5 separate regions of the Homo sapiens genome follow, and regions 1, 3, 4 and 5 are each linked to region 2. Evidence: promoter capture Hi-C in 16 types of primary human blood cells and fetal thymus (Javierre and others, 2016). All regions are on one chromosome and are shown on one strand. Each heading gives the region's core, a stretch centred on a gene start or on the middle of the fragment in contact. The rest is flanking DNA. Distances are from core to core; before and after follow the strand shown. Region 1 overlaps RNF6 (ring finger protein 6). Region 2 holds the start of POMP (proteasome maturation protein). Region 3 overlaps CDK8 (cyclin dependent kinase 8). Region 4 holds the start of B3GLCT (beta 3-glucosyltransferase). Region 5 holds the start of HSPH1 (heat shock protein family H (Hsp110) member 1).

Evidence for each region. The method cuts DNA at HindIII sites, captures the fragments that hold promoters and counts their contacts. A CHiCAGO score of 5 or more calls a contact.
Region 1: a contact is called between a fragment that was not itself captured here and the fragment with the promoter of POMP in region 2, in 1 of 17 cell types (naive CD8 T cells). The highest score is 8.7, in naive CD8 T cells.
Region 3: a contact is called between a fragment that was not itself captured here and the fragment with the promoter of POMP in region 2, in 1 of 17 cell types (total CD8 T cells). The highest score is 5.4, in total CD8 T cells.
Region 4: a contact is called between the fragment with the promoter of B3GLCT here and the fragment with the promoter of POMP in region 2, in 2 of 17 cell types (naive CD8 T cells and total CD8 T cells). The highest score is 7.0, in naive CD8 T cells.
Region 5: a fragment that was not itself captured here is called in contact with the fragment with the promoter of POMP in region 2 in 3 of 17 cell types (naive CD8 T cells, naive CD4 T cells and total CD8 T cells); the score reaches 11.6 in naive CD8 T cells.

What each region holds. Positions count from the first base shown.
Region 1 is chr13:26,218,635-26,221,345 of GRCh38, reverse strand. It overlaps RNF6 (ring finger protein 6), which reads left to right. Exons shown (of 5, transcript NM_005977.4): 2 at 16-98; 3 at 1,679-1,889. The coding sequence starts at 1,697. Among named protein-coding and RNA genes, the nearest start is that of RNF6, 2.3 kb to the left of the region's middle. RefSeq lists an enhancer at 1-260. The HindIII fragment of the contact is 431 bases long and covers 1,108-1,538 here.
Region 2 is chr13:28,657,688-28,660,459 of GRCh38, reverse strand. POMP (proteasome maturation protein) reads right to left here and starts at 1,330. Exons shown (of 6, transcript NM_015932.6): 1 at 1,273-1,330. The coding sequence starts at 1,275. RefSeq lists a silencer at 1,398-1,457 and an enhancer at 1,678-1,837. The HindIII fragment of the contact is 5,788 bases long and covers 1-2,772 here.
Region 3 is chr13:26,254,781-26,257,480 of GRCh38, reverse strand. The region is part of intron 1 of CDK8 (cyclin dependent kinase 8); the gene reads right to left. Among named protein-coding and RNA genes, the nearest start is that of CDK8, 2.0 kb to the right of the region's middle. The HindIII fragment of the contact is 607 bases long and covers 1,141-1,747 here.
Region 4 is chr13:31,198,375-31,201,355 of GRCh38, reverse strand. B3GLCT (beta 3-glucosyltransferase) reads right to left here and starts at 1,381. Exons shown (of 15, transcript NM_194318.4): 1 at 1,202-1,381. The coding sequence starts at 1,271. RefSeq lists silencers at 421-670, 731-1,630, 1,681-1,740. The HindIII fragment of the contact is 2,637 bases long and covers 285-2,921 here.
Region 5 is chr13:31,159,303-31,162,094 of GRCh38, reverse strand. HSPH1 (heat shock protein family H (Hsp110) member 1) reads left to right here and starts at 191. Exons shown (of 18, transcript NM_006644.4): 1 at 191-619. The coding sequence starts at 513. RefSeq lists enhancers at 65-184, 315-394, 6-551, 552-1,097. The HindIII fragment of the contact is 798 bases long and covers 1,139-1,936 here.

The DNA of each region.
Region 1 (2,711 bases), core at 74-2,573, 2.4 Mb after region 2:
CTTTTATTGCTTCAGATGGGCAGCTCTCAAAAAAGGCACAAACAATTGAAGGATGGATACCATGGCATATGTTAAAAGCGTGTTGAAAGGAAAATAAGGTATTCGCTTTGTTTTCATTGTGATTAACTGTATAAGAAAATTACCTTTAAGGAGAAGCTCAAGTTTTAAATAATATTAGGGTAACTTGATTTTATGATAGGCTTCAACTTGTAAAATTATTTATTACAAAAATCCTATTATTGCTGTACCTACGAAATATGCTCTTTGCTAATTATGGTCTTAATCTGAAGATAGAGATCTTGAGTTTTTAGTAGTGTTAATTCATATTTGAGTGGATAATGTTACTAGGTCATTTGTTCAAAATGACATAATAAAATAACCACAGTGAAAAAAATCCTTGAATTTGTAATTTAGTGTTACAGGTGAAATTGAATAGTTGCTTACTCCAACAGTATTTTAGACTTGTAGGCTAATTTCACCTTATATTTAAAGCAGCTTGCTTATTAAATACCTAGTGTATTTCGAGAGGCAGAGTTGCACAGTTGCTTCACTGGTAGCCTAGCCATTTGAGCCTCCAGCCTCTACTGAGTCAGGTGCTGTATTACTCATACCCTTTAGTGACATGCCAGAAATTGTCGAGGAATAGTTTATTTCATCTGCAGAACACCCAAATTAGCTCTTAACAGCAGACCTGGTCCTACCCTGGAAAACTCTAATCAAGGATTGGGGATGAGATTTGGGCATCTAGATTTTTAAAAATACCCTTAAGTGAGTTTGAGAACCATTGCTTTAGTGTGACTTACTGAATAGATGTATTTAAGAAATTCTAAAATATTTGTGAAACAAACATCTTTCTCTCTTGATTTCCATGTAATTTAAAAGTGAGCTTCTCAGGAGTGACACTTAAATATAATCCAAAAATAGTGGTTTCTTAGGCAAAGTCAGGAAGTTTCACTGGCATTCTGAAACTCCTGGGACTAACCATTCCAGGCTTAAGGATGAGGCTTGATATGGGGTGATACAAAGTGCTCTGATGCACTTTCACAATCCTTGAGCCATACATGATGTCTTGTTTCCTGTTGGGTTTCAAAGTCTTCCTGGTAAGCTTTAATAAGAGACCACCTTCCAGTTTGTTCAGTAGATATTAATTAGGCTAAATGATTTTCACCTCATCAAAGTGCAGTGGGGGATAATATTACATTCATGAGCCTTATTTTGGAAAGAATACCTTGCTGAAAACAAATGTAAATTATATCATCCCAGTATCCCTTTGCTCATTAAGTGAAGAATGTGCATAATTCAAGCCTAAAATTTGTAATTAATGTGAAGTACCCAGATCCTGAAACATAAATGAGGACTTCTGGATCAACTTTTCCAGATCGTCAACATGGTCAAAAATGAGATAATCACTATGGTATTCAGGCATGAGCATTGTGTGGTAAACCCAAATCCAGTCTGACTTAATGGCTTTAGGCAAAGAAGTAAGTGCCAATTGTGTTGTATTTCCTAGAAGCTGTTTTTCATTTTATATGTAAGCTTCTCACTGCAAGATTTGGCAAATACAGTATTTGGGTAGGGGACAACATTTAAAAATTAAGAAAAACTGCAAGTTAAAAATACAAAGCCAAATGTGGTCCATGACTTAACACCTTGAATGTTGTTTATATTGTTTGAACAGAAAGCCAGGAATCTCAGGATGAATCAGTCTAGATCGAGATCAGATGGTGGCAGTGAAGAAACCTTACCTCAAGACCATAATCATCATGAAAATGAGAGAAGATGGCAGCAAGAGCGTCTCCACAGAGAAGAGGCCTATTATCAGTTTATTAATGAACTCAATGATGAAGATTATCGGCTTATGAGAGACCATAATCTTTTAGGCACCCCTGGTAAGAGATGGGTAAAAGAGGAAACACCCTTTTTTCATCATTTAGATGGAAGGATTTCAAGATAAGGAGAATTGGTATTCTTTTTCCTTGCTTCTCTTTATGAAAATATAGTATATTGTTTTTGTGAGTTTAAGAACTTTTTAGTATAATAAAGTAGAAAATCACTGGCTTCTGTATTTTATAAGGTGAAAATAGGGGACATGGAGCACTATTATACAAATGCCAAACTAAGAAACAGGTTAATGTACATAATGGTGTTAAGTATTTACATATATGGTCCTATTTGTAATTTTTATACAAATAAAATATGACTTAAAACCCAATTTGAACTCATTTGGGGTATTATAATTTATTTATTCAGCTGAATTAATAGCTCCCCCCAAAGCCCAATGTGTTCCATAAAGTTTTTACAAATGAACTAATGGAAATTTGTATGTTTATATATTGTGTGTTTGTATATTGATGACCCATATAATGAAGTATTTGGGATAAAATTCAAGTAAATATTTGAAGTTTTCTCTATAAATGCTCCCTTAATTTCTTTTTAACTGACAAAAATCCACAGTTATAGCTTATAGATTCCTAAGTGTATCAACTGGCAGCACTTTACCAACTATTCAAATTAAATCTTATTTTAATAATTTTTAATAAAAGATTAATAAATGAAGCACAACCGAATTGATGCACATTTGTACCAGTTGAATATTTTTAACTGTCTTCAATTTACAGAACATATGAAAGTAATAAGACATTTGTCTTCTATAGGTTACTAAAGATTAGTCTTACCCTTCATGAGGTCTCATAAAACTTAATTCAGAATTC
Region 2 (2,772 bases), core at 81-2,580:
TTAAATGTGCTCAGAACACTTACACTAGCCTACAGTCGGCCAAAATCATCTAATACAAAGCCTACTTTATTAAAAAGTACTGGGTATCTCATGTAATTTATTGAATACTGTACTGAAAGTGAAAAACAGAATGGCTGTATTGGTACTCAAATATGGCCTCTACTGACTGTGTATGGATTTCACACCATCATAAAGTCAGAAGATTGTTGAACCACCAGAAGTTGGGGACCTTCAGCAGAGATGTGTGATTGTTGCTTTCCAAATGTATCTTCTATTACTTCCCTATATGAACATTCTCCTCCTTCTGGACTGCTTTATTGTAAAGTAACAAGGTTTCAACGCACAAAGAAAAGGTGAATTCTGACTTCTGGATTCTGTTATTGTCATTTTTCCCAATTTCCTTCTGTAAAATATCAAGATTAGTACTTGCTGTTTCTAATAAAGGAAGGAGCCGAGAAAGGCAAATCTACGAAAACCTAACTACTAGTTACATTTGAGAGTGCCTAAAAAACTTTTTAGATAACGATTAGCAGTATTTACCAATAGAAACTTTCTAGATTTGGATGGATGGCCTACCAGCAGTACCGATATCAGAGTCTGTGGCAATGGTGACTCAGTGTTCTTCTCAAATACCACAACTTCTAAGTTAAAAAGAAAGAGAAAGTGGTGGGGAGGAGAAGGAGGGAGGAGATATACTAACAATACTGGCAAACAGGGAATAGCAACTGTCTGATTTTTTCCCCTCTAACATCTAGCACACTACAAGCTCTCAAAAAAGTTTGTAGAGCAAAGCTGCGTTACACAAATGCGACCTATAGTTGTGGGCTGTTTACTAGGCAGTTACAAGGGCGGGGGCTGGGGGAGATGAGGAGTCTGAGAGCTCTGGGCTCCCAGAGGTTACCCGTCAAGGAAAGGGTCGCCAGCGCCACCCCACAGAACGTTGCACTTTCACGGCTGCCTTTTCCACTTCTGCGCCAAGTAAGGGGAGGAGGTCTGGGCCTGCTGGGGTCTAAGGGATGGAAGGGCGCAAACCGAGCTAAGAGGAGCAGGATGAAGCCGAAGCACTGCTAGTGGGACTAGTGCCGGGCCCCGGCGACAGTCACGACCCACCCAAACCCCGTGACTCGACAGATTATGGCGCCTGAGGCCGGCCTCAGCCCCACGCTGCCGCCGCCGCCGCCACCGGGGACGGGTTGGGAGGCGACTGCCTGTTTCTGCCGAGCCACGGTCCCGAGCCCGCGTGGAACTCCAGCCGCCCGGGTACCCACTCACCATCTTCCGCAGCTCTGCGAACAGCCTCTCTGCCCCGTTACCGTCAGTCGACCCCGCCGCTCACTTCCGTTTCCGAGGGCTGGCCCCCACATCCGCCGGAAGTGCGTCCGTCCTGGCGAGGAAGGAAGGAGGGCGCGGGACGCCGGAGGGAGCTGCGCGGGGCCGAGGCTCCCACGCTTGCAATCCCAAGGGACCCAGGGCCAAGGGCGCAGTAAGGGTGTGGGCTGGGAGGAGGGAGGGGTCGGGACGAGACGTGCCTGAGGGGAGGGAAGACACGGACTCCGGTTTATTAATAAACATCTACGGTTTGTACGGCATTTTAAGATGTGCAGTGTGCTTTTGTAGGTACATCGCCTTATTTAACACAAAACCTCTCTGAGGTAGCTATTACATTTCACAGAAGGGTAAACGAGGCGTAGGTGGTTTGAGTGATTTGCTTGAGATCGTTCGGCTAATAAAGCAAAATTGGGACACAAGGCTTTTGTCATTTTTAAAAAACATAATATTGAAGGCCTGGTATGTTCCGAACCCTGTGCTGAGGCTAGGAATACAAAAAAGGACCAGGCCGGTGTGGCCTCTGGGCTAGAGGAGCAGGGGTACTCCGGAGGCTAGAGGGGAGAGAGGGGACGATAGTGACTACAAATTAAGTAAATGTGATCATGACCGACATATGTTGGGCCCTTTGAATTGCGTTATCAACACAGTTCTAAGTGCTTACATCCTTTATCTCTTTTAATCTTTTCAATAACCTTACAAGTACAATTTACAGGTGAAGAAACCGAGACATGAAGGGCTTAAATAAATATGCCTAAGGACATATTTATGAGTCTAGAATCCATGCTCATTACACTATTCTGTATTGTTCAAATATAATGTAATAAAACGGCCTTATAGTCTGCTGCCACAGGATGGAGACATCTTAGGGAATCTTTGGACTGACAGCTAAAAGATAAGAGCGAACTAGTTTGGGGTAGTAGGATATTTAAAACAACATTACGTGCAGATCTGCTTGTGCAAAAACGGAACTGGAAAGAAGGCCTAAGTCTGGCTAAAGTTCAGAAAGTAAAGTGGAGAGTACTGTGAGATGAGGTTGTAAGTAGATGGAGGCAAGTGGTTTTTGTTGTTGTTTTTGTTTGTTTGTTCTAAATAATGATAGGGTTTAGCTATGTTGCCCAGGTCTGCGTTGAACTCCTGGGCTCAAGCGATTCTCCTGCTGCAGCCGGCTGAGTAATGGGAACTACAGGCGTGCATCATGGGACCTAGCTACAGGTTTTTTATGCAGCCTTTGTAGGCAAGATTAAGGATGAGGCTTTGTCTTTAAAAAGCCATCGAAGGATTTGAGAGAGGAAAATGATAAGGCCATATATGTTATGTATATCCACTGCCATGGTCATACAACTTTGAAGTTCCAGATGTTATGTGTTCTGCCATGCTGTCCTTTAGGTGTCTTCTGGTCCTTCACAATAGCCATGTTTAATCCTGAGATTTGAGTTGGAGTGT
Region 3 (2,700 bases), core at 195-2,694, 2.4 Mb after region 2:
TATAATGTGAAATTAACAAAGTTATAAAAGGTCCCTTTTCCCTACTATGCAATCATGCCTCAAGTAAGTCAAAGAAATGAATCTTTGAAGCTATTTTATTTCCTAAAACTTAATAATTTAAGCAGCTAACTTCTCTGGTCTAAATTATTTTACCAATTATTCATGTTCTATGCTCACTGGGCAACTGAAAGGATACAACGTTTACATACATTCATTTCAATAGTCAAATATGTCTAAACCAAGCTTATTTGCGTTACTTCCTTTTATAGAAAATCTCAGGTTCTCCTTAAAGGTGTTACTGTCTGAGTTCCTAGAGAACAAATCTCAGCTGCAGAATATATAATGTAATTTGAAAGTAAATCAATACTAGAAACAAATTATTTGATCATCATCTTATTATGAAAGATTAAACAGCCACAAATTTTATTTTACCAGGACTAAAATGCATTAAATTACATTTCACTGACATAAGATCAAAAGAACCTCATAAATACTATGCGATACTTTACCAGAGTGAGGTTACAAAGAGAAGTCAAACCGAAAAAAATCCCTGTAATTTTAAAACTCTCTAAAACTATCTCTAAAAGATAGTAATTTTAAAACTCTCTTGACATTTGATCCATTAAAAATAGAAGTTCATCACATAAAGAGAATCATTAAAGACTGATGGAAAACAAACTCCAAGGATTACAAATAATAAGTTCTTTTTTCCAAAATGCAATGTTACTTTTCAGCTGTCACAGATGACTAAGAATGTCCATACATTATACCTTCAACTATCTTTAAATTCAAAGATATTGAAATTATTCTTTCAAATTATTCTTAACGGCCTAAATTAAAACCTGACCATAGAGATATAAAATGTGCTTAAGTACCCCCTGCCAATACACAGTATTAGTTTTCTAATAAAATGTACAACGTTAAAACAAATATGCATATTTTATTAGCTTAAATTGGTAATTTATGAAAACAGAACCGGCTTCTCTCACACAGATTAAAAATAATGCAAAGGCGCTAGAATTTTATATAACATGTCAGTTTGGTCAAATGTACTGTAATGTCTAATCTCATGGGATTGGGGATTTTATGAATATGCCCAAAATTACATAATACTGGGGGAAGGGGAGATGGTTTAAAGCTTTTGAGAAATATTGTATGGTGAGTTAACAAACATAATTTTAAAAATATATGTCATTACAGAGTAAAACTTCAACAATAAGTCTAATTAGACAACAACAGAGTCAGCAATATCTCCAGACGCTGATTTCTCCAGTGTCACCAGACTATCCATTCCGCTAAAAAGTACTTTTAAATACGTGCGGCGCCCAGAATATCAAGTTTTCAAATCCAAATCCCTACCTTCTGCCGATCTGTTCCACTTTACTGTTGCATAAAAGCACTAAAATACACATTCTAAATTAATTAGAACTCCTATCTTCCTCGTAGAGTCCATTGTAAATACTTTTAGAAAGACATTTCAGTAAATCTAAGAAAAATGTCCAATAAATATACACTTTCCTTTCCAACATCCAGAATACTAAAGTATTTGTAAATATGCGCCCCCCTACCCCACAGTAGGGAACTTCAGCTTTATGAATTTTTTTTTCGTGCTAATGTAGTCTGAACATACTCTCCTACCTAATTGGAAATTTTAAGTGATTAAACATCATACAGCAGGTGACTAAACTGGGATGCTCAAGTAAAGCTACTTCGTTTCTAATAAAATCCAAGGATTATATAATAAGCTTTGACTTTTCAATAATTTTCTATTCTGTCAAAGGCAACAGAGACAACATCCATTTTACAAGAAAACATGGAGTTAATAAAATATATTTTCCCCCCAACTAAGAATTGCCTTCTCTTTTGTCAATATTACAAGACATTCATCTACTGACAAAGAGAAAAAATGAACAATTCACTTGCCTGTTAAGAAACTAAATTGGAAGCATTACCAGTCATAGGTTTAATTAAGTTGTTACTAGGGAAGAATATTTAAAGCAAAGGGATTATTTAAAGTTCACTGCCAGCCGCTAAATTTGGGGGAAACCGCCTGAACGAGATAGTCCCTATGTCACTTGCCTTCTTCCCCACCACCCACCCTGCACCAAACCCCCATTGTTCTATGTAAAAATTCACAGCTAATAATATCTAAATAGCAATTGCAACATTTATGTTGCAGATGATCACTATGGGGAACTCTCTCCAGAACCACATTCACTCGCTGCCTTCCTTTCCTCAAATAAAATACAAATTTGATAAAAAATCGATCACAAACTGGTGGGGGAAAGGATCACAGCCTTCCTTCTAGACCGATGGATGACACTCCAGAGGCGGGTGAGGAAATCCCCAGAAGGTTACCATAATAAATCGACCAAGGAAAAAAAAAAACAAAAAACATTTAACCCGGCGTTTTAGAACGAATTTTTTCATGAATCAGCTTTGAAATCCTTGAAAAGTATACAGCCCACGGTGCAGAGGCTCATCTTGCCTCTTACCACCAGAGCAGAACACAGACGCGGCACGCAGGATTTCTCGTGGGTTTGGATCCCTCGTACACCACTTCCTCCCCAAACCTGGCTGGCGGAGCCAGAGGCCGGCGTCGAGGAAGTCAGAGCCCGGCACCCCGGCGGCCCGCTCTCCCTCCGGGCTACCTGCCTCGGCCTGCGGGAGCGCCGCCCAGCGCGGACACCGGCCCAGACA
Region 4 (2,981 bases), core at 132-2,631, 2.5 Mb before region 2:
TGCTCTTTTCCCACACTTACTGAGCGCCTATAGAAATGCCAGAAGTACACAAATGCAGCAAATTAATCCTTATTCAGAGAGCTTAAATACAAATAAAAACAGGCTGTCAAGGTTCCGGTGGGCTAACAAGAGCAGTGCGCAATAACGCTACGTCTTTTCCTAAACTGCACCATTCTGCCATTACTAAAAAATCTGAAATCATTGCCTTTTCACACCAGCAAGTCTGGGTTAGAGGACAAAAACTCTGTAGCAGTCTGAAAAAAAAATAATTTTTCGCTCAAGCTTTCAAAGTTGAACAAATCTGATCATGAAAGTCAATTACAAGGCTGCTTTTTTTTTTTTTTTAACTTTTATCACATCGTTTTAAGATAAAGGGGGGAAATGCCCTTGCGAGGAGAAAAGAAATAAAAAAGAATGGGCATTACAGCAGCAGGAGACCGGGCAAGCACTGCTCTGCTCGCAGACGTGTCCCCTGATGTCCCCAGCGGAGACCCGAGACAGGAGCAAGCCTCCCCGCCGCGCCAGCTCCCGCGGAGGCCCAGCGGGCGCCCCTGTCCTCCTCCGGGTCGGAATCCGGGAAGGGCTGGCGCCGAGCTGGCCGCTTATCCTCAGGGGCCAGGGCACGTCCCGAAGGCCCTGCGGAGGGGCGCGCGGACACCGGGACCGCAGTCCTCGCCCCCGGGGGTCGAACAGGAGCCGCGGGGCCTCGAGGGCCGCCTCGCCGGCTCCCGTCCAGCCTCCCGCCCGGCGCGGGGCGCGCAGGACGGCGGAGCGCGGGCGGAAGGCAGGGGGGCGGGACCGCCGCCGCCGCCACTCGCGCTGTTGCAAAGTTTCTTCGGTGGCACAGTTCCTGCGCGCTTCCTGTGGGGGCGGCTGCTGCGCCCTCGCCGCCCCGTCGCCCGCCGGTTCGGGGCGGCAGAGGCTGGGAGACGCGAGTCTGGGGCCGGGGCGGCAGCGGGGACCCAAGACCGAAAGGGGCCGAGCGGGCACGCCTCGGGTCCCGGGCCCGGGTCCCACCTGGGCGCCGCGAGAGGGCGCTGCTGACGGCGCGGCGCGGCGGGGACCGGACGGCGGGACGCGCGCGCCGGCGGGGCAGGGCTGGGCCGCCCTGCGCCTCCCTCCCCGCGCCGACCGGGGCACGGGCGACTGTGCCCGCGAACCCCACGCCTCGCCCTTGCGCGCCTGGCCGCCCGCTACTTACCCAGGGAGCAGGTGAGGAGCGCGAGCAGCGCCGGCGGCGCGAGCAGCCACCAGCAGGCGGGCGGCCGCATCCTGGCGGCGGAGGCTGAGCGCCCTACCTGGGCGCGGGGAAGGGAGACGCGCGGGGAGCGGAGCTGCGCCGCTGCCGCCGCCGCCCTGCCGCCGCGGCTGACCCTTCTCTGCCGGCTCCCCTCCTCCCTCCGTCTCCGCCGCGCCATCGCCGGCCGCGCCCTCTGGCGGCCGGGAGCGGGAGCACCCCTGTGCGCGCTTCCAGCGTCTGCCGGGCTGGCGGCTGCGGCTGGTGTCCGGCCCGACGGGCTGCTGCGGTAGAGGTGGCCGCGGCTCTGCCCTCACGGCGCCCTCCTTCGAGGCGTCTGACCTCTGCCCCCTCCAGCCACCAGCCTCCACCCCTCCTCTTCCTTTCTCCTCTGCGTCCCTCCTGACCTAGGCCGCGTCCCCTGCCTTCATGCCCTCCCACCTTACCGCGTCACCCCCATCAGTAGTTCTACCTGTGAAGTGGAAGCGAGCAGTAATCACTTTTCCTCCCTGCTAATGTATTATCTGCTGTGGAAAAAAAAATGTAATCAATAGTTCAACTCTTAATATTGTTGGCACCAATGCTCTACTTTGATGAAGGTGTTTTTAATCAGCTCAACTAATTTACTTAATATCCCCTTTAAATGGAATTTGGCCAATAGCCTAGGTCTGGGATTTGGCTTTTAAACAAGTTTGTGTAAATGTAATTTTCTATAAATGTAATTTTAAGTGTTCACCATAATGGAAGAGAGTGGGTGTAATTTTATTCAAAATATAAAAATTAATTAAACTGGAATACAGAGAAGTGGAGCAATGTGGGAGTGCCTCCTGTTCCCGCAGGACTGCGAAGGGCTTTCCTCCCCAGCCCGGTAGAGTGGTGGCCCTGATAGGGGACTGGTCCTGTTGTGTTGTGTGGTGCACTGAAGGGGAAAGCATTACAAGTAAGAACTAGAGGCTCCCTTCAGTGGTTCTGAACTCCTTCGTGCCTCCCTCAAGCCTTGGCTCACTTCTGTTTCCAAGGAAGTGCACAGGACCAAGTGCTTTTCCCAGCCCTAGTTTAGCCCATGACCTCTTGAAGGCAGTTTCTATGTTTTCCTTCATATTTACTCATTTGTTGGATACCTACTATGTGACTGCAACTCTGCTAAGCACCCTAGGAATGCCAGTATCTTTCACATGGACATACAACATTCACCTACTTGCTAAACATTTAAGGAGGAGGAGGCCCTGGGAGTACAAGTAGGATGGCCCTGGGAATACAAGTAGGATGTCCTGGAGACAGAGAAGCAGGTGCTGAATAAACATTTGTAGGCTTGAGCCCTCTTAACTTGAATGCGTTTAGGGGACTTAGGCTCTAATGCATTAGGACAGTATTGTCTGCAATTGTGCAATACCTGCTGGGATTGTTTTGAAAAGGAGGCCTGGAGACAAAGAATTTTCTCTCTGTGTGGTTTATATTGACTTCTTAAAACTGGGAACTAAATATTTCACGTGTGATCCATTTAGTGTGAGTGCAAATAGTTCCCTTTTGTTCCATTCGCCCAAGGTTTATGGTCTCTTGTCAATACCATTTTGATGGGAGGAAAAAGAAATGTAGGGATCCTTCCATTTCATTTCTTAGTGAAGCATTTCAAATCTATGGTTGACTGAATTCATTGCTTTTATCCTTGGGAAATTCTCAAGCTTACCTGCCTAGTAGTTCTAGATTGTTTCCAATTTCCAAAGCTGTTTTCGCTTTTTTCCAA
Region 5 (2,792 bases), core at 288-2,787, 2.5 Mb before region 2:
ATGGCAACGGCGGCCGTTCTCCGGGGACCGGCTGCCCATTGGGTAGAATCTTTCCAGAAGGCTCGAGAAGAAGGAAGCGGAAGTGGCACGTGGAGGGGCCGGTGGAGGCGCCGGTGAGTAAATGCCGCAGATTCTGGAAAGTTCTGATCAGTGCGATACATAAGGCTGAGGAAGTGGGACCTCCCCTTTTGGGTCGGTAGTTCAGCGCCGGCGCCGGTGTGCGAGCCGCGGCAGAGTGAGGCAGGCAACCCGAGGTGCGGAGCGACCTGCGGAGGCTGAGCCCCGCTTTCTCCCAGGGTTTCTTATCAGCCAGCCGCCGCTGTCCCCGGGGGAGTAGGAGGCTCCTGACAGGCCGCGGCTGTCTGTGTGTCCTTCTGAGTGTCAGAGGAACGGCCAGACCCCGCGGGCCGGAGCAGAACGCGGCCAGGGCAGAAAGCGGCGGCAGGAGAAGCAGGCAGGGGGCCGGAGGACGCAGACCGAGACCCGAGGCGGAGGCGGACCGCGAGCCGGCCATGTCGGTGGTGGGGTTGGACGTGGGCTCGCAGAGCTGCTACATCGCGGTAGCCCGGGCCGGGGGCATCGAGACCATCGCCAATGAGTTCAGCGACCGGTGCACCCCGTAAGTGGGAGTCTGCGAGGGTGGATGGGAGGAGGTTCTGGGCCCTTAGTGTGGGGACCCAAGATCGCGGGCTGGCTGTACGGATCACCGCGGCAAACGGAGGCGTTTGGGCAGCGGCGCACCCCTCCGTGGAACTAGGGACCAGCGACCCGGCCAGAGGAGGGATGGGGGGCTTGCCATCACAAATTGGAGAAGGGATTGTCTCAGGGATTCACGGGGGTGAGAGGAGTCCCAGAGTCGAGACTCTAAGGGTCGTCACCTTGTGCGGGCTTCCTATTGGGGGTTTTCAAAACCTACTGGGGGTCGGGCTGCGGCAAAGCCCGCAACTTCGCTCCCTTTTCTTGGCAGGCTGCAGCCTGCGCCTTCCGCGGCCGCCCCCGTATCCCCACCCGGCCTCTCTGAGCTGGCTGAGCCGCCTCCAGCTTGTCCTCCTCCCTTCGCGCATATCTTTGCGCACCGCGGAGCGGGGCTGCCGGCCTTTTTCTTCCGCATTGTGAATCTCGAAATGAACTGGAAGCTTCCAGAGCTTGTGTCGCTGCTTGTCCAGTGAGCAGGCGGATTGTTGTTAGCGACCACGGAAGCAGTCCTATGAAAGATTAGCCCACCTCTTTTTACCCAGTCTCTTCGTTGCTAACATTGTTGGCCTTAATGCCCGGGATCATTGTCGAAAGATGTAAACGTCTTTTTTTTTGCTCTTTGCCATTCATGAGGAATTGTAAACCGTATTTTTAAAATTAATTTTGCACAGTTTATTTAAAAGAGAATAAAAATTGCATACTTTTGTGCTAGGACGCCAAAAGAGGATGGATGTCGTCACTGAACTAAATATTCTATAGGAGCATAGGGTGGGCAAAGGGCAACATTTTAAAAAGCAAGTTTCGTGAAGGGATATTTTCGGACGAGAATATATACAAACATATCTGCATGTGCATTGATGAAAACAAATGATTTCATCTCAAGGAAAATACTGTACCTATTAATTTTTTTCAAATGTCCCAAGCTCAGGATGAAAAGTGCAAAATGAAAACATTGAACCTAAAGGTAGAATGAATGACTGGGGTAATACAATTATTTGGGTGCTGAGAACGTTTATGAAAGTTGAGTGGAAAATCTGAGGCAAAATATTTGGCAATGTTAGTAACGTTAGGAAGACTGTTCTGAGCAACCTGTACGTCTACCCCTGCAGATCTAAGTTTGTGTTTTGGTTAAGGTTTTTTTAATTGGAGTTTAGTAAGAAAGAAAACAGTATTTCAGGCTTTCATGCCTAGATACAGTTTATACTTTGTTCTGGTTGATCCAATAAAACAAAGAAAAGCTTTTCAGAGAAGAGAGTGGGAAAAAAAATTGTGTTATACAGGGACTACTGTGTGAAATCAAAGACAACAGGTATGGCCCTGAAAAATGTGAACTGAGGGCAGTATTGGAGTTCCCCTTAATATGTTTGTTAAACTATAATTGTGGTGGATTCTATTGTATCAGCTACTAATTGTTATTTAGTACAATTAATTTGATTCTCCCCTAGGAAAATGAGTAGATCCATTCTGCAAGTGTATGGTTATTCAGAGCTTACAGTGATGCTCTGATTTTGACGGTTTCTTGTCTAGCTTCTGCTTGGACACTTCTCTGGCTTTTAGGATGCTATTTTATTTAACACTTGCTCAGATAATATAGTTTGAGGATGTTTCTATTATAGCAAATTTAAACTTAAGGGTGGTACTTAATGCCCTCAGTATTTTCCCGTTTTGCTCATCTCGTTTACCATTACTCATACCTAAGCAGGTAGGAGTAACTCACCCAAAATTAGATTATATTTGAATTAGTAATCCAGAATTAGATAACTCCTCTAATCCAAAACCTAATTCACTTACCTTCTTCTCACAAGACTTTTTAAGCTAGTCTCTGCTCTGTTATTGTGCGGTTCCATTTCCATGGTGGCTGAGAAGGTTGTTTCACAGTTGTAAGTCACTTTCCATCTCTTCAAAACAGATTTGATGTAACTGATTAGTCACTCCTTTCCCTCGACATTTATATTCTGTTTTGCCATGGTACTTGTTGTGCATCATTTTTTTCTTTCTCCGGCAGAATCTCCCAGATGGGAACCTCTTTGTGCTCTTTAAACTTCAGAGGTGTAACTTGGGTTCATTTGCTTGCGTTTGCATAAAAACTTTTGATT